Linked DNA regions of Homo sapiens: region 2 is linked to region 1. Evidence: promoter capture Hi-C in human tissues and cell types (Jung and others, 2019). All regions are on one chromosome and are shown on one strand. Each heading gives the region's core, a stretch centred on a gene start or on the middle of the fragment in contact. The rest is flanking DNA. Distances are from core to core; before and after follow the strand shown. Region 1 holds the start of ITM2B (integral membrane protein 2B). Region 2 has its middle 16 kb from the start of LINC01077.

Region 1 (2,982 bases), core at 170-2,669:
CAGGGAACCTATTAAACTAGGGAGCTGGAAGCAGTCGTTGACTTTGAGGAATTAGATAACATTAGATACTATGAAAGTCCAGTCCATAGAGTCAACCTCACAGAGCCGATGCCTGCACAAGGGCGACCCAGGAGTTTAAATAAGTTGCTGCAAGTATGGTTAGCTACTGTTAAAACTCACCAGAACTGGAACCTAACTCATCCTCCTCTTGGTTGAGCAGATTTCATTTTGACAGGAATTTCTGAATACCCAAAGCAAACTCAAAGTCTGGCCTGGGTTTCTATCTCAGCCCAGGATGCTTCTGAAATACATGAACAGAAGGATTTGGAGATCTTGGGCTGTTTCCCTGGGACTTATGATCTGACATTCTATGGAAATACCCAACTCCCTCCTTGAGCAGGGCCAAATCCCCAAAGATCTCAGACTGAACCCACTTTTTTCAGGGTTGGCCCAAGGCAGAGCTGACACAGCTGTAACATTCTAGAGCACACCCACAACTCTGGATGAACCAGGACAGAATGGGGTGGAAGGATACAAGATAACACATTTGTCCAAGGGGGCCGTCTGTTGACACAGTAATGAACGCAGTAACGACGGGAGCCAGTATTCTACCTCGCATTAGTTGTAAATGAAACGTCTTCAAAACATGAGAATTTTGCGTTATCCTTAATTATTTTTTCATTTTGCAGAAAAATAAAGGGACTCGTCATCGAGTACTTTGAGTCACAAATCAGCCAAGTGTGCATGTGGTTTTTTTCCAAGTACGCACAAGAGTGGAACATTTCGTTTTACGAGTGTGAGATGTTTGAAATACAAATCTGCCAAGAGCTTCCTCCACATTGGTCTGGGACTAGGCAGAACAGGCCCTGACCTCCTGAGAGAGGGAAGGAAGACCAGGCAGGTCTGAGCCAGGTAAACGCCCTTGGGTGAGGTCCGTGAAAGATAAAGTCAGATCTCAAGGACAGAGAGCTTTAAACATGTTTGTGCTCCACTGAGTCGGTTACCTAATAAGTGAGAAAATGAAGATGTGGATGCACAAAAATTCCATGGCCTTTAGGCTCGCGGTGGGGACAGGGTACAGGGAAGCGGCGGTCTGGTGCTGCCAAAGGTTAGTCCCTTGTACCCGGCGAACTCAGGAAAGTTCACTCGATTTCGCTACAAACCTGCAGCACTCGGCCTGGAGGTAACCTGGTTGGGAGCGAATTCAGAACTGGAAATTCCAGGCGGCCCAGAGGGACACCCATCCCTCTCCGAGGCGCGCCGGGATCCGGCGCCCAGCTGCGGGGCGAGGGCAGGGTCCCGCGCAGCACCCCACCCCCGGCCGCTGGCCCCGCCCCCGCCCCCGCCCCGCCTCCCAGGGGATGTGCGAGCAGTCTCCGCCCTCGCGCGGGAGCTGGGAGGCTGCGAGATCCCTACCGCAGTAGCCGCCTCTGCCGCCGCGGAGCTTCCCGAACCTCTTCAGCCGCCCGGAGCCGCTCCCGGAGCCCGGCCGTAGAGGCTGCAATCGCAGCCGGGAGCCCGCAGCCCGCGCCCCGAGCCCGCCGCCGCCCTTCGAGGGCGCCCCAGGCCGCGCCATGGTGAAGGTGACGTTCAACTCCGCTCTGGCCCAGAAGGAGGCCAAGAAGGACGAGCCCAAGAGCGGCGAGGAGGCGCTCATCATCCCCCCCGACGCCGTCGCGGTGGACTGCAAGGTCCGAGCCCGGGGAGGTCGAGGAAGCGGGTGCTGGGCCCGGCCGGGGAGGGCTGCGCGGACTGCAGCGGCAGTGCGCCCCGAGGTGGCGGGCGCGGGGCTCGCGCCGCGGGGACAAGTCCCCGAGAGAGCCCGGCGCTCCCGTTTCCTGTGGGTCCGCAGCTCCTTTGTAAGGAAGTGCGTGTGCTGGAAGCGGTGCCTGACGCGGGGTCGGGGGCTTGGGAGGCCTGGAGAGGGAACGATTGGCTAATTGTGCCGAATTCCCGGTCGTTTGTGCAGTCCGGGGAGCGTGCGTGCAGCCAGGACTTGGCTTGTTCGATCTGGGGACCGGCAGCGACAGGCACAACAACAACAACCGAGTTTGGCACTTCCTTCCCAGTATAAATAATGTACCTAAAATGGCTGACATCATTACAAGCCTAAACCTCTGTTGTTTCCCACTTTCGTTTCTAGGCTTGAACAGCACTTGGACTAAGTCCAGCAACTGTAAGCGTCTTAATTTTAAAAGCGTTTCTTTACCTCCTTTTTCCACGGCCCTTCGGTAGTGGCAGGTGAACTTCACCTGGAGAGGGGACGAAGGGACAGTCCGCCCGAAGTAGGTTTGGGCTGTCTCTTACCATTACTAGTAAAGGCCAGTAATGACTATGTGGATGTTAGTGAAAAACCAATTGTTGGCATTTAAATTGTATCAGCGTCTTTGTGAGGACTCCTGCTGCGTGAAACTAAACATGAGAAATTTGCCCCCGGGTCCCTAATAAAATTCTCCTTTATTTTACAAAATCTCCCTTTAATCCTAGGAAAATTCATGAAGTGGGGCTGTTACTGTGTTGACTTTTAGTAGGTTACGATCATATTTACTTAAATATGAGTGTAATTGTCTCATAAGTTAAAAAAGCCCACAGCCTCTTACCCAGACCCTTTTTAGGCTGCAAAAATTAGAAATTAACTGTAAAGTTATGTTGCTTATCTTATTTTTTGTTGTTGTTAGCATTTTTCAAGACCTATTATCAGTAGGGTAAATTTAGTTTTAACTTAAAAAAATTGGTGTGCCACGTATGAATAATGGGAGTTTTTATATGGACGAATGAAAATTATTGCTGAAAAACAGGCCACTAATATACTGTAAAAAATTCACAATATAATGGTAATCTAGACATCATATTATAATTTATTATATTCTGAATATAATCTATCTTCAGAATATAATGGTAATCTTACTTTCTGGAAATGTTCTGATAAAAACAGACACGTCAGAGGTTGATTTCTAAATGACTTGCCTTGCCTTGAAATAG
Region 2 (2,982 bases), core at 153-2,652, 370 kb after region 1:
AAGAGTGCACGAGGGTTCCCATTTCTCCACATCCTCTCCAGCATTTATTATTGCCTGACTTTTGAATAAAAGCCATTTTAACTGGAGTGAGACATCTCATTGTAGTTTTGATTTGCATTTCTTTGATGATCAATGATGTTGAGCACCTTTTCATATACCTGTTTGCAATATGTATATCTTTTTTTGAGAAATGTCTATTCAGATCTTTTGTCCATTTTAAAACAAATTAGTAGATTTTTCCTACAGAGTCGTTTGAGTTCCTAATACATTCTGGCTATTAATCCTTTGTCAGGTGGGTAGTTTGCAAATATTTCCTCCTATTCTTGTCTCTTCACTTTATTGATTGTTTTCTTTGCTGTGTGAAAGCTTTTTAATTTGATGTGATCTCATTTGTTCAGTTTTTTCTTTGGTTGTCATAGTTTGAGGTCTTAGATTTAAGTCTTTAATCCATTTTGATTTGATTTTTGTATATAGTGAGAGATAGGGGTCTAGTTTCATTCTTCTTCCTATGGATGTCTGTTTTTTCCAGTATCATTTATTGAAGAGACTGTCTTTTCCCCACTGTATGTTCTTGGCACCTTTGTCAAAAATGAGTTCACTGTAGATGTATGGATTTATTTCTGGGTTCTCTATTCTGTTCCTCTGGTCATTGCGTCTGTTTTTGTGCCAGTACCATACCATTTTGATTACTGTAGCTCTGTAGTATAATTTAAAGTCAGGTAATGTGATTCCTCCAGTTTCATACTTTTTGCTTAGGATAGCTTTGCCTATTCTAGGTCTTTTGTGGTTCCATATAAATTTTAGGATTGTTTTTACTATTTGTGTGAAGAATGTTATTGGTATTTTGATAGAAATTGTATGAAATCTATAGATTGCTTTGGGTAGTATGGACATTTTAGCAATATTAATTCTTCCAATCCTATGACATGGAATATTTTTCCATTTTTTGTGTGTCCTCTTCAATTTCTTGCATCAATGTTTTATAGTTTTCAATGTAGATATTTTTTACTTCTTTGTTTAAGTTAATTGCTAGGTGTTTTATTTTATTTGTGGCTATTGTAAATGGGATTACTTTCTTGGTTCTTTTTCAGATTGTTTGCTGTTGATATATAGAAATGCTACTGATTTTTATATATTCATTTTGTATCTTGCAAATTTACTGAATTTGCTTATCAGTTTTAGTGGTTTTTTGGTGGCGTCTTTAGGTTTTTCCAAATATAAGATCATGTCATCTTAAAACAAGGAAAATTTGACTTCTTCCTTTCTAATTTGGATGCCCTTTCTTTCTTTCGTTTTTGAGATAGAGTTTCGCTCTGTCACCCAGGCTGGAGTGCAGTGGTGAGGTATAGGCTCACTGGAAACTCTGCCTCCCGGGTACAAGCAATTCTCCTGCCTCAGCCTCCCAAGTAGCTGACATTATAGGCACCTGCCATCACACCTGGCTAATTTTTGTATTTTAAGTAGAGATGAGGTTTCACCATGTTGGCTGGGCTGGTCTCAAACTCCTGACCTCAAGTGATCTGCCTGACTCAACCTCCCAAAGTGCTGGGATTACAGGCATGAGCCACCATGCCTGGCTGGATGCCCTTTATTTTTTTCTCTTGTCTAGTTCCTCTAGCTGGGACTTCCAGTACCGTGTTGAATAACATTGGTGACAGTGGGCATTCTTGTCATGTTCCCAATCTTAGAGGAAAGGGTCTCAGTTTTTCCCCATTCAATATGATACTAGCTGTGGGTCTGTCAAATATAGCTTTTATTATTTTGAGGTATGTTCTTTCTATATCCAGTTTTTTGACGGTTTTTTTTTAATCATGTCAGGATGTTGAATTGTGTCAAATACTTTTTCAGCATCAATTGAAACAATCATATTGTTTTTGTCCTTCATTCTGTTGATATGATGTATCACATTAATTGATTTGCATATGTTGAACCATCCTTGCATCCCTGAGATAAAGCCCACTTGGTCATGATGAATGACCTTTTTTTTATTGTGTTGTTGAATTCGGTTTGCTAGTATTTTGTTGAAAGTTTTTGCCTCAATATTCATCAGTGATATTGGCCTATAGTTTTCTTTTTTAAAATTTGACTTCCTTGCGTTTTGGTATCAGAGTAATACTGGCATTGTAGAATGAGTTTGGAAATATTCCTCTCTCCTTTGTTTTTTAGAACAACTTGAGTAGGATTGGTATTTGTTCTTCTCTAAATGTTTGGTAGACTCCAGCAGCAACACCATTGGGTCCTGGGCTTTTCTTAACTAGAAGACTTTTTATTATGGCCTTGATCTAATTACTTACTATTAGTCTGTTCAGGTTTTGGATTTCTTCATGGTTCAATCTTGGTAGGTTGTGTGTCTCTAGGAATTTATCAATTTCTTCTAGATTTTCCAATTTATTAGCATATGGTTGCTCATAGTAGCCACTAATGATCATTTGAATTTCTGCAGTATCAGTTGTTATGTCTCCTTGTCCTCTCTGATTTTATTTTTTGGGGTCTTCTTTCATTTTTCTTTAGTTGGTCTGGCTAAAGATTTATCAGTCTTTTGTTTTTTAAAGTTTTTATTTGATTGATCTTTTGTATTGTTTATTTATTTTCAAATTCATTTATTTCTGCTCTGATCTTTATTATTTTTTTCTTCTACTAATTTTGGGTTTGGTTTGCTCTTGATTTTCTGGTTCTTTAAGATGCATCATTGGATTGTTTATTTGAAGTTTTTCCTTTTTTTTGATGTAAGCACTTATAGCTGTAAACTTCCCTCTTAGTCTTTCCTTTGCTGTATCCCCTAGGTTTTGGTATATTGTGTTTCCATATCATTTGTTTCAAGAAATTTTTCAATTTCCTTATTAGTTTATTCATTGACCCACTGGTCATTCAGGAACATACTGTTTATTTTCTATATGTTTGTATAGTTTCCAAAATTCCTCTTGTTACTTATTTCTACTGTTATTCCATTGTTATTAGAGAAGATGTTTGATATTGTTTCAA

Evidence for each region. The method cuts DNA at HindIII sites, captures the fragments that hold promoters and counts their contacts. A contact is called where the count stands out against the background at its distance.
Region 2: a fragment that was not itself captured here is called in contact with the fragment with the promoter of ITM2B in region 1 in 1 of the 25 tissues and cell types used here (mesenchymal stem cells).

Annotation. Positions count from the first base shown.
Region 1 is chr13:48,231,787-48,234,768 of GRCh38, forward strand. ITM2B (integral membrane protein 2B) reads left to right here and starts at 1,420. Exons shown (of 6, transcript NM_021999.5): 1 at 1,420-1,691. The coding sequence starts at 1,575. RefSeq lists silencers at 1,296-1,655, 1,666-1,875 and an enhancer at 1,931-2,628. The HindIII fragment of the contact is 16,899 bases long and covers 1-2,982 here.
Region 2 is chr13:48,605,360-48,608,341 of GRCh38, forward strand. No RefSeq gene overlaps it. Among named protein-coding and RNA genes, the nearest start is that of LINC01077, 16 kb to the left of the region's middle. The HindIII fragment of the contact is 7,734 bases long and covers 1-2,982 here.